7 separate regions of the Homo sapiens genome follow, and regions 1, 2, 3, 4, 5 and 6 are each linked to region 7. Evidence: promoter capture Hi-C in 16 types of primary human blood cells and fetal thymus (Javierre and others, 2016). All regions are on one chromosome and are shown on one strand. Each heading gives the region's core, a stretch centred on a gene start or on the middle of the fragment in contact. The rest is flanking DNA. Distances are from core to core; before and after follow the strand shown. Region 1 overlaps SLAMF1 (signaling lymphocytic activation molecule family member 1). Region 2 has its middle 5.5 kb from the start of CD84. Region 3 holds the start of CASQ1 (calsequestrin 1). Region 4 overlaps ATP1A4 (ATPase Na+/K+ transporting subunit alpha 4). Region 5 overlaps CD84 (CD84 molecule). Region 6 has its middle 26 kb from the start of CD84. Region 7 holds the start of VANGL2 (VANGL planar cell polarity protein 2).

Region 1 (2,957 bases), core at 349-2,848, 230 kb after region 7:
AGGTGGAGATAATTGAATCATGGGGTGGTTTCCCCCATGTTGTTCTCATGGGAGTGAATAAGTCTCACAAGATCTGATGGTTTTATAAATGGGAGCTCCCCTGCACAAACTCTCTTGCCTGCTGCCACGTAAGACATGATTTTGCTCCTCATTCGCCTTCAACCATGATTGTGAGGCCTCTCCAGCCATGTGGAACTATGAGCCAATTAAACCTCTTTCCTTTATAAATCACCCAGTCTCAGGTATGTCTTTATTGGCAGGATGAGAGCGGACTAATACAATCAGTTTCCACAAACAAACCAAAAAAACTTTTTTTTAAAAACTTACACCAATAATTTTGTGGGTTTAAGTTCTCTGCTGAAGATTGAAGGGTCCCAGGGAGCAAATTCCATTGTGAACCAGGCAGCTTTCACCACCTAGCAGGTTCAGACTCTCTCTTTCTCTTCCCATTTCTGCACAAGTATCATCTTCCTCCATTCTCATACAGAACCATCCAACCCACACCCAGATTCCTGGGGGGTCTCCACCTGCCTTCTAGCATTTATTAAGGTACTATCATAAACAAATACAATTCCTTTTCAAAGAGGAATTCTAGTAGCAGTTCCTTGATTATAATATGTTTCTTTAAATATTATATTTTTCTAGCTAGTAAGATGTAGAAGTCCCACTTTGATTGCAAATTCCATGAAGGTAGGCCCTGTACCTTATTCTTTATTTGTATCCTCCATTCCACCGGAAACAATATAGGGCAGGAGGGCACTCAATATGCACTCGATGAACTAAGTTAAATTAAATGAGAGTCCACAAAAATGGATCTAGAAAAAGACTGTCACGTAGCTTTCTGTTTAAAAATTACCAGAAGGAATGCAGGGTCACCTGCTGAATGGCCCAAGGCAGGAATCAAAGGGAAGGAGAAGTGACCCACTTGGCTTATACTTTACAATAACAAGATGGAGCCAGGAGGCAAGTGTGTGTCTGTGCCATCGGCGCTTCACCTGTGCTCCCATTTTCAAACCACCATTTCCTGTGGCAGAAGCTCCAGCTCTTCTTCTCTTTGCTCAGTCATGTAGTGAGGCCTCTCTGGATGGTGATGCTGAGAAATCAAAGTTGTCTTGGGGTCTAGAAGCTCCTGACTCCTTCATTCACAAAGAAATGCTACCTGAACATTTCTGAACCAGAGGTTTGGAACTCCCCCTACTCCCGAGGCTCTTAGAGGCGGCCGAGCAGGCTGGTCAATAACTCACATGCCATTTGGGAAGAGTGCTTTGCTCGAGTCTCCACCCTGGGCCCTCTCCACCTATTGTCTGTGGTTTAAACGTGATAACTTGGCAGACAGTCACACATCCAAGGAAAAAGCCAGAGGGCGTTTTTTTTCTTGTCTCTGAAAGTGTTGTCACAGAAACACAGAAGCGTGTCTCTCTCTCTCTCTCTCTTCTCAAGTCCCAAAATCTTATTATTAATATTTTTTTTAGGGAAGATGAAAAAGAAAACTAAAAAGAATCTGAGAAACAAATGCAGTTCACCTAGGAGATACTGCGACGTTAGCGTAACGGTGGGAGCGTGCCGGATCTCCTTCCTGCCTTTCATGTGGTTCTGTCAGCAAAGGCTGCCATCTTCAAGAGATACATTCTTGTTCGTGGCAGTTTCCATTCAGAACTGGGGGTGGGGAAGGATCCTCATGAACCATATACTAATTTAAGTTCTGGGACCATCCAAGTAAACATTTTTACGGAGTTCACAGCTTCCAGAAAAATCACTTACAACCTGCCTATCCCACCCAGCATTGCAGAGGCTACTAGCTCCAGTGAGATTGCGCTCATGCTTTCGTGGTAATACGAGTCTTTTCTGGGCATGTAGCTGCTCAGCTAGGAGCTATGTGTCTCAGCTTCCCTTATAGCGGGTGTGGCCCATGACCAGGCTCTGGGCTGTGCAAAGTTTCCAGGTTTTTCCTTTCCACCATTGTTTTTACGCTCGCTAAATTGGGAAGACCCTAGAGAGAGACCTGTCTTAGTGCCTGGAACATCTAAGTGACTCTGAAACAATGGGAACTCCCTATTTGAAGAAATGACCTTGTTAGAAAGGGGAAGCCTCCGGAGCTCACTGGCAGGCGTCAGCCTTTTCTTTCACTGAGCTAACTCAGAGGTGCTGAGCCAGCGGTTTGCTGATCTGCTGAAAAAGATCCTCTCTTCAAGATGAGCTTCCAGGGGCATTCCTTTCTAGATTCCTTCATTCTAGCACAGCCATATCTATTTCAGAATACAGTCATCGAGGATGGCAGCAAGTCACACACTGTCCACAGCTGACCCACATCCACTGGCTTCACATGACCTAGCCAGAGTACTTCATAGCACCCTAAGAATTGGACTTTGCAATAAAGATGCTTCATTATGATAGACATTAACACACTGAAATGGCAATTGGAACAAGGATGAATACATGACCTGAACAAATGTCACCTAAAGAAAAAGATTTCAAGGAACATATAAGTTTTTGCACAGTTTCGCTTAAGTGAGTCCTGTCAAGATTCAGTGCTCACATCACATTGCATTCCGTCTCATCACACCATTAACCGCTGTGAGGTTTTCATTAATGAAAATGAAAAATGTCTTAAAATCACTGTCCTGATGACAGATGGCAAAGCAACCTCTAATAAACCCTCGGACCCCACCCTTTCATCCCAAGGCTGGGGTTTTCCTTTGTATGCCCTAGGAAAAATGTCTTTGTTAACTGACAGTTGCTGCTTTGGCTCGGGTCCCATCATTTTGATGGATGACTGCAATAATGGCCCCCAGGAACTGGTTTCTCTTTCTTCCCCACTTCCCTGCCCCAGTCTGTTCTCTATACTACTGGAGTTCCTCTTTGAAAAGCAAGACTGATGGTGTCACTCCTCTATCTAAAACTCTTTATTAGTTCCTATCACCTACAAGATAATACAGAGCAAGACCCAGCTGTATCTG
Region 2 (2,700 bases), core at 73-2,572, 180 kb after region 7:
ATAGGGAATCCTTTCCCCATTTCTTGTGTGTGTCAGGTTTGTCAAAGATCAGATGGCAGTAAATGTGTGGTGTTATTTCTGAGGCCTCTGTTCTGTTCCATTGGTCTATATATCTGTTTTGATACCAGTGCCATGCTGTTTTGGTTACTGTAGACTTGTAGTATAGTTTGAAGTCAGGTAGCATGATGCCTCCAGCTTTGTTCTTCTTGCCCAGGATTTTCTTGACTATGTGGGCTTTTTTTTGGTTCCATATGAAGTTTAAAATAGTTTTTTCCAATTCTGTGAAGAAAGTCAGTGGTAGCTGGATGGGGAGAGCATTGAATCTATAAATTACTTTGGGCAGTAAGGCCATTTTCATGATACTGATTCTTCCTATCCATGAGCATGCAAGGTTTTTCCATTTGTTTGTGTCCTCTTTTATTTCCTTGAGCAGTGGTTTTTGAAGAGGTCCTTCATATCCCTTGTAAGTTGTATTCCTAGGTATTTTATTCTCTTTGTAGCAATTGTGAATGAGAGTTCACTCATGATTTGGCTCTCTGTTGTCTGTTATTGGTGTATAGGAATGCTTGTCATTTTCGCACATTGATTTTGTATCCTGAGACTTTGCTGAAGTTGCTTATCAGCTTAAGGAGGTTTTGGGCTGAGACAATGAGGTTTCCTAAATATACAATCATGTCATCTGCAAACAGAGACAATTTGACTTCCTCTCTTCCTATCTGAATACCCTGTATTTCTTTCTCTTGCCTGATTGCCCTGGCCAGAACTTCCAATACTATGTTGAATAGGAGTGGTAAGAGAGGGCATCCTTGCCTTGTGCTGGTTTTCAAAGGGAATGCTTCCAGTTTTTTCCCCCATTCAGTATGATACTGGCTGTGGGTTTGTCATAAAGAGCTCTTATTATTTTGAGATATGTTCCATCAATACCTAGTTTATTGAGAGTTTTTAGCATGAAAGGCTGTTGAATTTTTTCAAAGGCCTTTTCTGCATCTATTGAGATAATCATGTGGTTTTTGTCATTGGTTCTGTTTATGGGATGGATTACGTTTATTGATTTCCATGTATTGAACCAATTACACAATTCTGACTGAGAAATTAAAATTGGGCGAACTTATCACTCAATGAGTGCCAAAGTTGTTGCTCTCAGATCAGCTGAAGGCAAGAGCAAAGCTTTCAATGGAAATTTTAAAGAAGCAGGATGATCCCACTTTGAAAATGCTTTGTAGAAGCATTTCTTCAAAGAATTATAACAGGAGATGTAACCTGGTTTTATCAGTATAATCCTGAAGACAATGCACAATCAAAGGAATGGCCACCAAGAGGTGGAAGCTGTCCAGTCAAAGCGAAAGTGAACCAGTCAAGAGCAAAGGTCATTGGAACAGTTTTTTGTGATGCTCAAGGCATTTTGTTTGTTGACTTTCTAAAGGACCAAAGAACAATAACATTTGCTTATTATGAAAGTATTTTGAGAAAGTTAGGCAAAGCTTTAGCAGAAAAATGCCCAGAAAAGCTTTGCTAGAGTCTTTCTCTACAACAAAGCTCCTGCTCATTTTTCAATAGGAAATCTTTAGGATCAACTTTACTGTCCTGATTTGGCTCCTTCTGACTTCTTTTTGTTTCCTAATCTTTAAAAAATCTTTAAAGGACACCCATTTTTGTTCAGTTAATAATGTAAAAATACTACATTAACATAGTTAAGTATCCAGGACACTCAGTCCTTCAGGGATGTTCTAAATGGTTGGTATCATCACTTTCAAAAGTGTTTTGAACTTGATGGAGCTTCTATTGAGAAATAAAGTTTACATTTTTAGTTTTTCTTTTTAAATTTCATTTTTCATAAATGTTTGAAGTCTGAGATTGAAGAGATTGGTATTTCTGGACAGAAATAAAAACCCAGAAAGGAACCAAATGAAAGTTCTAAATTGGTTCCAGCATTTAGGTTTGCAACAAGAAAACATATACTAGTTTTATTCTTGTTCTTTAACTTTTCCATCTGGAAACACTTAAGATTTTCCCTTTATCACAGAAATTCAAGATTTTACAAGGATGTGTCCTGGTGTGTTTGCATGGCATATTTCTGGCTGGAATCAGTTGTATTTTCAGTCTGATGGTTCAAATCTTTCTTTATCAAAGGGAATTTTTCTTCTGTGTCTTTGATTATGGCTTCCTTTTTGGCCTTTCTACTTGCTCTTCCTAAAAGTCCTCCTAAATATTTAAAGCTATCCTCTATATTGCTGAATTAATATCTCCTGATTTTCTCTTTGTCTTCTTGCTTTACATACTGATAGAGTTCCTTATAGACACCCTATAGAATGTCTTCCAAACATGGGTTCTCAGCTATGTTTACAGTTTTCAGCTATTTGCTTGAGTTTTAAACTTTGGTAATACGCTTTCATTTCCAAGTCTTTTCATAGTCTTCAGTTGTACCTGATTCATAATTATCTTTAATTCCATGTTGAAAAATTCTCTATACTAGATAAAGGGTAAATTAAAAAACAAAACATAAGAATAAAACTCTGGAAAACAACTATAACTGAAAGAAAAGAGAAGAAAGAAAGAATTATTAAAGCAATAGGAGGAAAACAGGAGAGTTGATGTCATGAAAGCAAAACAACGAAGGGTTTGAATAAGAGAAATATGAAAACATTTTTAATTCTGCAAATAATTAAAAGGGAAATGAAAGAGTACATGCAATTTTTGTAG
Region 3 (2,963 bases), core at 454-2,953, 210 kb before region 7:
GGGCTGGACATCACCTAGATCATCTGCTTCTGGGCAGGCCTCCCCATCTCACCTGGCTGCCTTTGCTCTGGCCTTGGGGCTTTCCCACGTTAGCCACTCTTCAGGGAGACCAGGATATGGGCTTCTGAGGTCTCTTCAGCTCCAACGTGCTGTGCTTAGGCTAGCTCCAACCTCTCCTGCTACAGTGACAGCTGTCCCTCTTGGCCTCACTCCTGCCATGCTTTTGAGATTTTCTGTGGCCTTCCGTGTTCAGCTGTGTAAGGTCCACCACACAGACATGTGGAAAAGTTATTCTGCTAACATAATTACATGACCCTCCCTGGATGCAAAACAAAACAAAAAAAACACCACTGTCCCTCTAGAATCAGAGATACCTCAGGGTGCAGTGGCAGCATGTGACTTTGATCTGACCCTCTATGGTCTCCCTCATGCCTCAGTTTACCTGTGCATAGTAAGAACCCTGGAGGGCCATGAAGAGGATCCTTCCTTCCTACGTATCCAGAGTTAAACTCACTACTCTGTCCTCACCCCCCAAGCTGGATCCAGAAGTTTAAGCCCCTACCCGCCCATCTCTGCTTTGGATCTCGGGTGCACAGAATTAATCATCAGTCTTGGTTCAGGGCACAGGGTTCACCTCTTCATGCTTGCCTAATGTTAATTTTTTTTTGCCCTGGTGTCAATACCTGATCCTCTTTGTCTTGTCAAAGACATGGGAATAAATAGTAGCTATTCACTCTCCTTGGAAGCATGCAGCCTGGGAAAACCTCCCTTCCCACTGTGCCCCAGAAAACCGAGTCCCATAGGATCAGGGTAGGGAGTGCACACACAGGTGGCAACCAAAGGACAGACCCCTTCTCATTGTGGGCTTTATAGGCAGAGAAACCCCAAACCCACATCTCTACAGGACAGGATCTGGGCCAGCCCTGTCCTTCCCTGCATTCCCAAGTTAGGAGTGCTGAGTGAAGCAAAGGAAACTGGCTGGAGCTGAGCCAGGTTGCCAGTCTTGGACGCGGCTCCATCTTTTATTCAGAGAATGACCTCATCCTTGGTCCTGGTTCTTTAAAAGAAAGTGGAGGGGGTCTCTTTCCTGCAGCCTGGCTTGCACTTTTATCGCCCCACTCTCCTACATAGTATCAAAGAATCAGAATCAGACTTCACCTACAGAAGATTCCCAGGCTTTAGGACATAGAGCCAATACCACATTTGTCCCCCTTTTGTCCTATATTATCAATTTAGCCTCTGACCCAGTTAGCTCCTCCTCTCCACTGCATTTAACTTCTAATTACCCTTGCCCCACCCTCGGCCCACCCTAATTACCCTTATACCTCCCCTCCCCCAGCCCCAGCTTCATTTACCTCCGACTCATCTGGTCTTATTTTTAGCTCCGGCATCTCTCCTTTTCCTTTCTTAATATGGCGATGAGCTCTTAGGCCAGTGTGGGGACCGGGGCTGAGGTGCCCTGGACACTGGAGGAGGGGGAGGGAAGGAGCCCCTGGGAGCCTGGGGTAGAAGTGTAGGAGGTGGGAGGATTCCGGCCCGCATGGAGCTGTCCTGGCCTCAGAAGGTTATCCGTCTCTCCTGCCAACCATGGAGACATATTTAGACAGGACCAGGTGGGGACTGAGGGGTGCCAATTTCAGGGGGCAGCTCCGGTTCCCTCCCCGCCCCCTGCTCCTATTCCTCCACCTGACCCTTTTTCCCTTGGCTCTGTCGGCAGTTTCTCCAGGACCCAGCAGTGCCCTCTGTCCACTGCTCTGGGCCATTCCCCAATCCCCCCTCCCACTTGAGCCCCTAACTCAGAATCTGGGACCCAGGGGCCCCTCCCTACCCCAGCTAACCTCTTCTGGACCAGGAGAGCCAACCCAGATCCCACTACCTCCATGAGTGCTACAGACAGGATGGGGCCCAGAGCTGTGCCGGGTCTGCGGCTGGCACTGCTGTTGCTGCTGGTGCTAGGGACACCCAAGTCAGGGGTACAGGGGCAGGAAGGGCTGGACTTCCCTGAGTACGATGGTGTGGACCGTGTGATCAATGTCAATGCAAAGAACTACAAGAATGTGTTCAAGAAGTATGAGGTGCTGGCACTCCTCTACCATGAACCCCCCGAGGATGACAAGGCCTCACAAAGACAATTTGAGATGGAGGAGCTGATCCTGGAGGTGAGTTGGGGGCACTGCAGGCCTGCAGAGCATGTCTAGCCCCTCTCCGGAATCCCCTATCCTACACCCATGTAGCTCTTTGAGGATGGGATCTGGGGGTGAGGGGCAGTGTGGTAGGAACCCTGTCCTGACCAACAGGATGCAAGTGGCATGTGGCTTTAGTCAAATGAGAAACAGAGTCTCAGGAACCCAAAAGTACTATCAGCGTCAGGAAACCTTTAGCAGGGGTGCTGCAGGAAGAGCTCCCCTCCCTGCTATAGGAGGCTGGTAGTATTTGACTTAGGTTTGGCTAGGACACTGAGGGTGAAAAAGGGAGGTACTTGGAGGGCCAGGGGAGAACAGCAGTGTATATTGCACTCCCCTACCCCACCCATCTGCTTAGCCAGAACACGTCCTCTCCACATACTTCAGGGGCTGCACCCCAAAGAGATCCAAACTGAGTGTAAATGTAAATGTTATGATACTTGCATGCCATGTTTAAATATCTCCTAGAGATCATGCCTCCCATTGGACTCCCAGTCCCCTCTCTCTTCCTTCCCCCTCCCTAATTCCCCATTTGTCTCCATTGGATAAGCTGGATGCCCTCACTGGAAAATTCTTATGGTTGCAGGAGGTGTCAGAATGTCTTCCCCAATCTTCTTTTTGTGGGAAAAGTCTCCTCACCTCCAAAATGACTTCAGGCCCAAAGGAGAAAGAAGTTATCATAAGAAAAGAAAAAAAACCTATGTTTGGGAATGTGTTCATACACACACACCTTTAGGAAATGGGATGTGAGTTTTCTTGTCCAAGCTCCTGTGGCCCCTT
Region 4 (2,969 bases), core at 448-2,947, 240 kb before region 7:
CCCAGCATGAAAGCACTTTTTTTTTAATTTTTTGAGACAGGGTCTCACTCTGTCACTCAGACTGAAGCGTAGTGATGTGATCACGGCTCACTGCAGCCTTAACCTTCTGGGCTCAAGCGATCCTCCAACTTTAGCCTCCCAAACAGCTGGGACTACAGGTGCATGCCACCACACCTGGCTAATTTTTTTTTCAATTTTTGTAGAGACAGGGTCTCCCTATGTTGCCCAGTCTGGTCTTAAACTCCTGGGTTCAAGCAATCCTCCCACCTCGGCCTCCCAGTGTGCTGGGATTACAGGTGTGAGCCACCAGTCACGGCCTGAAAGCACTTTTTAAACTCCTCTTTCCATCACATTCATTCTATGGGCCAAAGCAAGTCACGTGGTCAAGCCCAGGTTTAGGGGTAGAGAGATAGACTCCACCTCTTAATGGGAAGAGCGTCAAAGTCACATTGCAAAGGGCCCTGCAAACAGCATCATGGGAATTTGCAATCTGCCAAAGACACCTTCAAGAATGATGTGGTGGGTGACAGTAAGAAAGGGGAGTAAGGAGGAGGGAGACCAATAACAGAAGGTTTTAGGCTAAGAGTGGGATGAGGAAAGCCAAAAGTTTTGGAAATGATCCTGCACTATCCTCTCATAGCAAGCTCTGGTAATTCGAGGAGGAGAGAAGATGCAAATTAATGTACAAGAGGTGGTGTTGGGAGACCTGGTGGAAATCAAGGGTGGAGACCGAGTCCCTGCTGACCTCCGGCTTATCTCTGCACAAGGATGTAAGGTGAGGGGATGCCGAAAGCTATGTGAGGGACCCAAGCGTGATCTCATGGCAGGGTAGACACCTGGGCCGTTAGAGAAAGTATAAGCTTATTACTCAGAATCTTGAGAAGTTACAAGTGCAGATTTGATGTTAGAGACAACAGATGTGTAAATTTGTTTCTCTCAGTCTGTCAGTGATGATGTTGGTGACCAGATGAAGACATACTATTTTTGTAAATAAATCTGCCTTTTTTCCTATGCTCACCTTACAACGCGTCCCCTCTCCCATCCCAGGTGGACAACTCATCCTTGACTGGGGAGTCAGAACCCCAGAGCCGCTCCCCTGACTTCACCCATGAGAACCCTCTGGAGACCCGAAACATCTGCTTCTTTTCCACCAACTGTGTGGAAGGTGAATATCGAACCATAAGTAGCATAGATTCAAAAGCAGGCACCAAAACATAAAGATTTTAATAACTGTCTTCTAAAGGTAGCGAGGTAGGTAAGAGCCAGTAAAAAGTCGAGCTTCTCCATCACGAGCTGTATGACCTCTGGTGAAAGGTCAAGGTCATCATTTCCACATTCGCACAGTGATGACAGTAAAAGTCGTTACTCTGTAGATTTTCGTGTGAATTGAGATAATATATGTAAAATGCCCAGCACAAGACCTAATACATTGTAAGTGACCTACAATTATTAGCTATTATTTTAGCTTGTGAATGGACTATGCTGTTTAAGCTGAAAATGGCACAGAGGGGAGGAAAATTGTTCAGCCCTGCTAAGTCATTCTTCTCTTAAGGTAAGCCCTAACTTCTAACTAGTCCCCTATCCAAGAGAAGATATTGGCATTGGAAACTTGAATTACCAGAGGTGCCACTTAGACTTTACCACTTAAACTTTGGCTTTGCTCCTAGAATCTAGGAATCCTTGAACTGGGAGACAGTTCTGGCAAAGTGGTAATAAAAAGGGACTGAACATCATTCTGTCAATCTCTCCTTTGCCCTTTCCCCTTAAGGAGGCCTGAAGACTCCATGGAGCACACTTGAAAACTATTATTCATGCTTAAGAACAAATGTTTGGTTATCTAAAAATAGTTCTTTTGTTTGTTTTGTGTTTTTTTGAAACAGAGTCTCTCTCTGTTGCTCAGGCTGGAATGCAGTGGTGTGATCTCAGCTCACTGCAACCTCTGCCTCCCAAGTTCAAGCAATTATCCTGCCTCAGCCTCCCGAGTAGCTGGGATTACAGGTGCCCACCACCACGCCCAGTTATTTTGTGTATTTTTAGTAGAGATGGGTTTTCACCATGTTGGCCAGGCTGGTCTCGAACTACTGACCTCAAGTGATCTGCCCTCCTCGGCCTCCCAAAGTGCTGGGATTACAGACGTGAGCCACCATACCCAGCCTAGAAATATTTTTTATTTGAATGCATAGTATTTGTTAAATATTATAAATATTATCTCTAATTCCCACATGCGCACAATACCAGATATTATCCCTATTTTACATGTAGCAGACTAAGGTTCAAAGAAATTAAGCACCATATCCAAGAGTACAACTCAATAGAAAGGAGGCGGGTCAGGGATTCTAATGTAGGTCTGTCTCCATATCTCGTGCTCCTTCCACAGACCCTGCTCTGTGCTGAAAGATTGCTATTTAATTTGAAAATACCTTAAAGAAGAAGCGTAATGTTAAGACAGAATAGACTATGAGAAAGAATCCAACTAGAAAATAAAATACATATATTAAAAATGTTTTAAAATTGATTGGACAGAAGCAAGTTAGCAAGCTTTCCCCAAAAACACTAGATGTCTACTATTAGATTTTAGGAAAAAATTTGCCCAAATTTACCCTTACAAAGTAGGGTTTTCATCAGCTAAGTATATGTTCAGATAAAGGGTATGGAGGAAAGTGGATGGTGGCATTTCGACTGGGAAGCAAGGGTCTGTTTAGATAGAAAATGGTTTTGTAGGAGGCTAAAAAAACCCAACATGTGGCCAAGAAGGTGGAGCTAGGTAGAAGGAGCTGGGCGGAAGGACTTTCAGTTGAGGAATTTCTCAGCAATTCACAGACCGATAGCATTTACCCTAGATCAATTTGCCCTTTAACCTTTACCCTAGACTTTTAACCTTTGCCTTAGACCAATTTGCAAATTAGTAGCATAACTTTAACCTTTACCCTTGCCTCCCATGTCTCATCACCGTAGACCTTGACATGGCT
Region 5 (2,770 bases), core at 133-2,632, 160 kb after region 7:
AGCCATTACATTGTGAATAGCACAAAAAATAGGAAGTATTCTTCTGGTATTTGGAAACCATTATCCAATTCAGCAAAGAAGTCGCTCGTGTCATTGATAAACAAATGAAGCTCCAATATATATGTCTTTGTTGAATCACTTTTTTCTTATTATTTAACTGAAATGAAAATATCAACCGATGTTTGTGTTGGAACTATACTCATACATCAATTACAACTATAAGCTGATTAGGGATATAAATGCTTAGCAAAAATCAATGAAAGCATTCTGTAAGAATAATTGGAATTTATCCTCTAGTGCCCTCTCAGCAAAATAAATTCTATATAGAATTTACAATAAAGACTATTATATATTTATTATCATTAATGAAACTGTGTGCTACACATCCTTCAAGTCAATAAAATTTGTACTAAACATAAATTTTATATATATATATGAATACACACACCCAATTAAGAGCTAATTAAATATTTATCAGCACACAACTACATGAAATAATCTTTTTTTTTTTTTTTTTGAGACGGAGTCTTGCTCTGTCACCCAGGCTGGAGTGCAGTGGCATGATCTCGGCTCACTGCAAGCTCCGCCTCCTGGGTTCAAGCCATTCTCCTGCCTCAGCCTCCCGAGGAGTAGCTGGGACTACAGGTGCCCACCACCACGCCTAATTTTGTTTTTGTATTTTTAGTAGAGATGGAGTTTCACCGTGTTAGCTAGGATGGTCTCAATCTCCTGACCTCGTGATCCACCCGCCTCGGCCTCCCAAAGTGCTGGGATGACAGGTGTGAGCCACCGCACCCAGCCAAAATAATCTTTAAAATTTTTTTTCATTCTGTTTTCTGGTGTATGTATATTTTCTTTATTTTTTAAAAACTATCCATGGTGGAAAGCTATAATTTCTTTAAAAGTTCATTAAAATGTTTTTACTTAAGCAATCAAAAAGTAAACTATAAAAGTTGAAGGCTAGTAAAGGGTTACTAAAGAACAATAATAATTCAAGTGATAGCTAGGACTGGAGCTGGCATGGGGAAGCGTTAAGGTCTTTTCTTTTACCAGGAATAAGAAAATGACCACATTTGGAGTTAATAAGTTCAGCGCCCTCTCAGCAAAGTTGCTGTGGTGGGGTTTGTTTCTTCCACTGTAGCTATGTGAGGAAGGGAATAGAGGAGTCAGAAGGAACTGGTGCACAACTAGAAAGGCAATAAATTCAGAAGTGTAGACACAAGATATAAGAACCATTATCTTGCGTTTGTGAAGGAACTCAACATGAACAGTAAGAAGCTGTAAAAATGTTTGATTCCAAGCTAGCCAGAAATTCTGGTCCTAACAATCTTTTAGAGGGATCTATTCCATATTAGAATTAGTGAAGACTTGGAATAAACCCAAAACAAGTTTGGGGTACAGACCTGGATTAACTATAATAGTGACTGATACGATATCAATTAGTAGAAAGTGAACAAAATTTTGTGTGTGTGCGTGTGTGTTTCTTTAGAAATTTGATTTACAAAAATGCCTAGGGAGTGCTTGGTGTTTACCAATTGTTGGGGGTAGGTGTTGAGGTAGGGGACAGTGGTAAAGAAGAGGATCCCATCTCACTTTTCTCAGCAGGAACAGAGGTGTTGCCTGCACAAAGATGCTGGGAAGAGAAAGTCAGAGTCATGGCCGACAGATCTTCATCCTCCCAAGCCAAGATTGTGGAAGCCACTGGAGACCTGGTTCAGAATCCAGGCTCTACTGCTCTCTAGCTATGGAATAATGGAGAAGGTATACAGATTCATGGAGCTTCAGCTCCCTTATTTATAACATGAGGGTAAAAATTTTTCCCTAAATACAATTGTTGTGAGGATTAAATGAGATTTTGAAGATAAAGATTATTCTAATTACCTATTTACTTATCTATCATCTATCTGTCTGTCTATGCTGGTATGCACATTAATTATCTATGGAAGACACAGAAGAAGCTGGCTACAGCCACTGCCTCTGAGAAGAGAGAGTTACATCTCATTGTATTATCTTTTGCTCTTTTTGTGCATACAGTGCTTAAATATGTATAGTCTATATATTTTTAAAATAGATATTAGAATGCCAAACACATAAATGATGTTCAATAAATGTTAGTTTCCTTCTCTTTATTTTCCCAGCTAACTACCCATAAGGTACAGATTTTATTGTATATACAGTACAGCTTTCTCTAAGATATTACTGTACTGTGTCCTAATTGCACGTGGTAGAAGACTTTCTGAAGATTGGGTAGGCAAAATTAAACATATAAAGGGTTAAAAATCAATATCTTAAAATTGAATACCATCTTTATTTTCTCAGCTAAAGTTCTCGAATGAGTTAAATATTTTCTAAAGGGTTGACATTTGGGTATGGCTCTTTGACTACATTATTCAAGCCTAGTTCAGAGCCTTCTTCATCTAGGAAGTCCTTCATAATGAGATTTTTTTTAAGGGATAAGGATTAAAAAATTAATGATTACTAGTTATTGAGCATTTACTTTAAGGCAGGCACTATACTAGGGAGCTCAACTACCATTATCTCATTTAATACCATCAATTACGATCTACATTCTATAAGTGAGGAAACTTTGGAACAGAGAGGTTAAACAACTTGCCCAAGATCATACAGCTGGCAAAGTATGCCTAATCCCAACATTAGCGTTCTTTCCGCTATGCTGTCCATCGGTATAGAAACTGATTCAATCATCTTATATTAATCGAACATTCACAATTGCTAAGCACTGTGAAACCTGGGAATAATACTATTCATT
Region 6 (2,702 bases), core at 130-2,629, 200 kb after region 7:
GTCAGTGCAGTATTGAAGCCCCCCACTATTATTGTGTTCCTATTTCATTTCTTACATCTAGCAGTGATTGTCTTATAAATTTGGGAACTCCAGTGTTAGATGCATATATATTTAGGATTGTAATATTTTCCTGCTGGACTAGTCCTTTTATTGTTATGGATTGTCCCTCTTTGTCTTTTAAAACTATTCTTGCTTTAAAGTCTGTTTGGTCTGATATAAGAATAGTTACTCCTGCTCAGTTTTGTGTCCATTTGAATGCAATATATTTTTCCACCCCTTTACCTTAAGTTTATGTTAGTCCTTATGTGTTAGGCAAGTCTCTTAAAGACAGCAGATACTTGGTTGGTGAATTCTTATTCATTCTGACACTCTGGATCTTGTAAGTGGAGCATTTAGGCCATTTACTTTTAATGTCAGTATTGAGATATGAGGTACTATTCTATTCATTGTGCTAGTTGTTGCCTGAATTGCTTGGTTTTTTTTTTCATTGTGTTATTGTTTCATAGGTCCTGTGAGATTTATGTTTTAAGAAGGTTCTATTTTGGTGTATTTTGAGGTTTTGTTTCAAGATTTAGAATTCCTTTTAGCAGTTCTTATAGTGCTGACTTTGTAGTGGCAAATTCTCTTGGTAGTGATACATTCAGCATTTGCTTGTCTGAAAAAGACTTTATCTTCCCTTCATATATGAAGCTTAGTTTTGCCAGATACAAAATTCTTGGCTGATAATTATTCTTTTAAGGAGGCTAAAGTAAGGATAATTACTTAGTTTAAGGATATGAAAGATAGGACCCCAATCCCTTCTAGCTTGTAGGATTTCTGCTGAGGAATCTGCTGTTAATCTTATAGGTTTTCCTTTATAGGATACCTGATGCTTTTGCCTCACAGCTCTTAAGATTCATTCCTTCATCTTGACTTTAGATAACCTGATGGTTTAGATTACCTAAACCTGTGTGTTTAGGTAATTATCTTTTTGCAATGAATTTCCTGGGTGTTCTTTGAGTTCCTCAGGAACACAAATTATTCTTAGGTTTGGTCATTTAACATAATCCCAAATTGGCTGGAGGCTTTGTTCATTAAAAAAAACTTTTTTCTTTGTCTGTGTTAGATTGGATTAATTCAATAGCATTGTCTTTGAGCTCTGAGGTTCTTTCTTCTACTTGTTCCATTCTATTGTTAAAACTTTTCAGTGTATTTTGCATTTCTCTAAGCATGTCTTTTATTTCCAGAAGTTCTTATTGTTTTTTATTTATAATATCTATTTCTTTACAGTGTTTTTGTCCATATCTTGTATTATTTTAAAAATTTCTTTAAGTTGGTTTTCACCTTTCTCTGGTGCCTACTTGAGTAGCTTAATAATCAACCTTCTGAATTCTTTTTCTGGCAATTCAGAGATTTCTTCTTGGTTTGAATCCATTACTGGTGAGCTAGTGTGATCTTTTGGTGGTGTGATAGAACTTTGTTTAATTATATTGCCAGAATTGTTTTTCTGGTTCTTTCTCATTTGGGTCAATTATGTCAGAGGAAAGGTCTAGGACTCAAGGGCTGCTGTTCAGATTCTTTTGTCCCACAGGGTGATCCTTTGATGTGGTGCTCTCCCCTTTCCCCTACAGATGGGGCTTCCCAAGAGCTGAACTGCAGTGATTGTTATTGCTTTTCTGGGTCTAGCCACCTAGTGGACCTACCAGGCTCCAGGCTGGTACTGGGGAGTGTCTGCAAAGAGTCCTGTGTTGTGATCTATTTTCAGGTCTCTCAACCACGGATACGAGCACCTACTCCAGTGAAGGTAGCAGGGCAGTGAAGTGGATTCTGTGAGAGTCCTTGGTTGTAGTTTTGTTTAGTGCACAGGTTTTCTCAAATGCTGGTTATGCTAACAGTGAAGTTGTCACATGGACAGACTCAGGACCTCTGGTTAGCCAGGACGTTACAAGTGGTGGAATTAGCTGTTGTTTTCTCCTTCCTTGGAGCAGGGCTATTTTGTTATGAGTTGCTATAATGGCTTGACTTGATTGGCCTCCAGCCAGAAGGTGGCGATTTCAAGAGAGCATCAGCTGCAGCAGTACGGGGGAATACAAGCTTGCCCTAAGGTCACCTGGATAAGTATTTGGGTTTCTCAGGTGATGGGAGGGCCATAGGGCTCCCACAAGATTATGTCTTTTGTCTTCAGCTACCAGGGCTGGCAGAAAAAGACCATCAGGTGGGGGCAGAGTTGAGCATGTCTGAGCTCAGACTATCCTTGGACAGGGCTTGCTGTGGCAACTGTGCGGTATGGGGGTGTGGTTCTCAGGCCAATGGAGTTATGTTCCCAGGGGGATTATGGCTGCCTCTGCTGCTTTGTACAGGTAGCCAGGGAAGTGGGGGAAAGCCAGTGGTGACAGGCCTCTCCCCACTCCCACACAGCCAGCAAGGCCAGTCTCACTCCTGCCATGCTCCCCAAAGAGCCAAATTTATATCCAAGCCTCTGGTATGCAGGGCTGGGATGTTGCCCTGGGATACTAGCCTCTCTGCTGAGAAGGCAAGCAGGGCTTTCAGGCCTCACCCCTCCCTGCCTGCTGTGGCTTCTGTGCTCATATCTGCACTTTCTATTCATCTCCACAGATCCTGACCAGGACAATTCGTACTCAGTCAAAATTATTACAAAGTTCAGCTGGAAGTTTCCTTCTCCCTGTGGCCCTTCCCCAATCCCACTGGCAGCCCTCCCCAAG
Region 7 (2,811 bases), core at 179-2,678:
AAAGACAGAGTTTGGGCAAAGGAGAAAGGAAGTGTGTTTTACTGTTCTGCATCTTTGAACAATGCAGCATAGTTGGTTCTGTCCTCATCTTTGGACAGGTTAGAATGAACCATCAAAAGGGGTGAGATTAGGTCTCAGGAAATAGTTTTCATCAGGGAGGAGCAAAAATTCCCAAACAAGTGAGGAACAGAGGCTGGGAGTCTCTTTCTCTGGGATTCCTTAATCACAGGGTTGTTCAAGCAGGTGCCAGGATTGGAAACTGAAGGAGGCTGAGATATTGAAAAGGCCTTGGCCTGCTTAGGGAGAAGTATGTGAAGATGCTTTTGAAATGATACTACTCTAAGTGGCGGGTTGCACGGCAATAACATTAATGATAATTGAATACTGCTTTCACTTACTCCAAGGGGAACATGGACTTCCCACAGCCCAGGCTTTTACGGTGTGGGTTCACTCTTGTAGGGTCACATGTAAAAGAACCCTAACTGGTTTCTTGGCATACTGGGAGGCACAAATGCCCCAAACGTGTAGGATATTTTGTGAGATCCTACAATCCCTGTGTGGCACCTTCAACTCTAAAGTATCTGAAACTCCTGGGATGGACAATCTGCCTGCTTGGGGTTGGGGACCCAACTGGCCAAGGCATTTTTCCTCTTGGAGGTTTCCTGGGAGAAGGCCCCCTCTCCTCTGCCATTCAAACTCCCAGGCGCCCGCGTCTTTTCCTCCTCCCCTTCTTCCCTAAGGCAGGGTTCCCTTTGTAATTAATCCCAACACTCAAACCAGAGGGGAGGAAAAATGTGTTAATGAGGGAGCGTCCCAGACTGACTGGGGCGGTCGCTGCTCGCAGCTAGAACTCCAAGTAATTAAATTATTTTTGGAAGGAGGGGATATGGTGGTGATGGTGTCAGGGAAATCCCCGTATGCATGGGAAGAGGCGTGCGCCTCTCGCCACTAATTAAAATCAGGGATGACCCTCCCTTCTCGGACCCCTAGGGGGAAAAAAAAAATCAATCTTCCCACGTCCCAGATTCCATTGGATTTTGTGTAGTCGGGTCCGTGGCCCTAAAGAGAATATGGCCAGCCCCAGGGATCTGGGGGCTCCTTCTCCGACAGGAGGGGTCCAGGAAGACAGCCCCAGGAGGGACTGCGGGCTGGGCCAAGTCCAAGAATCGAGGCATTCCCCTGCCCACCGTTCGGGACCCGAGTGTCAGCCCCACCGCGGATTCCCAGGATCGGGGAGGGCCGCTGGGCATCTGAAGGCGCAGGGCTGGGGGAGCGGCGACTCCGGGAAGAGCGGGGCCGCAGACAATGGACGCGGCGGTAGGAGGGGCGGCGGCTGTGGGAACAGCCGGGAGGCGGCACCCGGGAGCTCGCGCTCCCCCGCCCCCTGCACCCCCCACCCTCATCCCCTCCCCCTCCGCCCCCTCCCCCCTGCGCCGCCGGCTCCCGATCTGATTCCTGATCCTTGATTCCTTGATCCTTGGTCCCGCCATGGGAGCCTGAGCGCCCCCTATTCCCCCCTGGCCCCCAGCCCCCGGGGCCTTGAGGGGGAAGAGGCAGCGGTCTGGGACGGAGCAGGGGGTGACCAGACTCAAGAACCCCCCCCTCAACATCCCCCATCGCGCGCGCTGCCTGTCCAGGAGCGCCGAGTTCGGAGCGACCCGGAGCGCTGCGGATACAAAGGCGACGGGCCGAGCGGGGCGCCCGCGGAGCCCACCCGGCAGTTCGCAGCGGCGGGTGAGTGCCGGGCCGCGGGGGCGCGGGCAAAGTTTGAAAAAAAAAGAAGAAAGAAAGAGAGAGAAAAAAAGAAATGGAAAAGGAGGAAAATCATGCAAGGGGCCAGGGGGTGCCCGACCCCAGAGCGAGCGGGGTGGCTTATGGGGGAAGGGGGGCTGGACTCCGGGCAACCCCCTTCCGGTCCGCTTCCCCACTGCACAGCGGAGTACCCCCCCCAACTTTGGGGAGGGGAAGGGGCTCGTGGGGAGGGGGCGGAGCCCAGGCCTGGAGAGCCGGGGACTTTCCTGGGCCCGGGCGGGGGCCTTAATGATCCCAGGGGAGCCGGTTGAAGCCGGAGACGGGGAGCTTGTGTTGGAGGTGGGGGGAGAGGCGTGGAAGGATCGGAGTCTGGAGGTATTGGAAGCCAAGGGTGTTTTGGGGTGCATACACCCCTCAGGAGCGTGGGGAGGGACGGAGGCAGGTATGCGTTAAGGGTGTAGAGTGGAGTCAGGGGGGCGGGTTGGGCAGAGTAGATAGGGTGTATGTACAGACCGAGGATGGGGCTGGAGGCGGTAGACTGTGTATAGGGGCCGAGGGGACAGGCGCTGGCATCCCTCTCCCCACTCATATTTACCCATCTGGGGGACTGTGGGCTCTGCGTTAGTGAGTTTTGAAGGGTTGGTGGAGGATCCGTGTGCATGATTCTTTGTTTTGGTGTGTGTGCACGCCTTGACGTGCTGCATGTTCCTGCAGGTGGGCCCCTGGTTTGGATGTGTAGGTGTTTTTCTGTGCTTGAGTGTGTGTGCACCCAGGGAGCGGCTGACCATGCATCTGCTGTGTGTTTGGATATGTGTTTATATGTATACTTAGGGGAGGGCGTGTATGTCTATGTGTGTGTACTGGGAGAGGGGTTCACGGGAAAGAGGTGTGTAGGTACTGAGGAAGGTGGGTGTGTAAGAGCAGAATGGAGTGTATGTGGATAGGTGTGTGTGCACCTGTGTACTGGGAAGGGGTGTGAATCTGTGTTCTCTTGTGTGTAACCTGTGTTGATGGGTATCAATGTGTGTGCCTGCCTTAGCTGGTATGTATGTTTCTGAG

The links. Contacts are between HindIII fragments. The CHiCAGO score rates a contact against its expected background, and 5 or more counts as called.
Region 1: a contact is called between a fragment that was not itself captured here and the fragment with the promoter of VANGL2 in region 7, in 6 of 17 cell types (M2 macrophages, fetal thymus, M0 macrophages and 3 more). The highest score is 7.6, in M2 macrophages.
Region 2: a contact is called between a fragment that was not itself captured here and the fragment with the promoter of VANGL2 in region 7, in 3 of 17 cell types (total B cells, naive CD4 T cells and naive B cells). The highest score is 6.1, in total B cells.
Region 3: the fragment with the promoter of CASQ1 here is called in contact with the fragment with the promoter of VANGL2 in region 7 in 1 of 17 cell types (M2 macrophages); the score reaches 5.0 in M2 macrophages.
Region 4: a contact is called between a fragment that was not itself captured here and the fragment with the promoter of VANGL2 in region 7, in 1 of 17 cell types (M2 macrophages). The highest score is 5.6, in M2 macrophages.
Region 5: a fragment that was not itself captured here is called in contact with the fragment with the promoter of VANGL2 in region 7 in 1 of 17 cell types (naive B cells); the score reaches 6.0 in naive B cells.
Region 6: a fragment that was not itself captured here is called in contact with the fragment with the promoter of VANGL2 in region 7 in 12 of 17 cell types (fetal thymus, total B cells, naive CD4 T cells and 9 more); the score reaches 14.0 in fetal thymus.

The regions. Positions count from the first base shown.
Region 1 is chr1:160,627,890-160,630,846 of GRCh38, forward strand. The region is part of intron 3 of SLAMF1 (signaling lymphocytic activation molecule family member 1); the gene reads right to left. Among named protein-coding and RNA genes, the nearest start is that of SLAMF1, 18 kb to the right of the region's middle. RefSeq lists an enhancer at 1,771-1,860. The HindIII fragment of the contact is 6,126 bases long and covers 1-2,957 here.
Region 2 is chr1:160,583,630-160,586,329 of GRCh38, forward strand. No RefSeq gene overlaps it. Among named protein-coding and RNA genes, the nearest start is that of CD84, 5.5 kb to the left of the region's middle. The HindIII fragment of the contact is 314 bases long and covers 1,166-1,479 here.
Region 3 is chr1:160,188,872-160,191,834 of GRCh38, forward strand. It overlaps CASQ1 (calsequestrin 1), which reads left to right and starts at 1,704. Exons shown (of 11, transcript NM_001231.5): 1 at 1,704-2,159. The coding sequence starts at 1,881. The HindIII fragment of the contact is 15,704 bases long and covers 1-2,963 here.
Region 4 is chr1:160,158,362-160,161,330 of GRCh38, forward strand. ATP1A4 (ATPase Na+/K+ transporting subunit alpha 4) reads left to right here. Exons shown (of 22, transcript NM_144699.4): 5 at 641-775; 6 at 1,048-1,165. Among named protein-coding and RNA genes, the nearest start is that of ATP1A4, 8.2 kb to the left of the region's middle. The HindIII fragment of the contact is 1,678 bases long and covers 859-2,536 here.
Region 5 is chr1:160,554,582-160,557,351 of GRCh38, forward strand. The region is part of intron 2 of CD84 (CD84 molecule); the gene reads right to left. All of the region lies in intron 1 of CD84-AS1 (CD84 antisense RNA 1), which reads left to right. Among named protein-coding and RNA genes, the nearest start is that of CD84-AS1, 19 kb to the left of the region's middle. The HindIII fragment of the contact is 6,836 bases long and covers 1-2,770 here.
Region 6 is chr1:160,603,789-160,606,490 of GRCh38, forward strand. No RefSeq gene overlaps it. Among named protein-coding and RNA genes, the nearest start is that of CD84, 26 kb to the left of the region's middle. The HindIII fragment of the contact is 1,383 bases long and covers 689-2,071 here.
Region 7 is chr1:160,399,136-160,401,946 of GRCh38, forward strand. VANGL2 (VANGL planar cell polarity protein 2) reads left to right here and starts at 1,429. Exons shown (of 8, transcript NM_020335.3): 1 at 1,429-1,734. All of the region lies in intron 3 of LOC105371466 (a long non-coding RNA gene), which reads right to left. The HindIII fragment of the contact is 3,661 bases long and covers 1-2,811 here.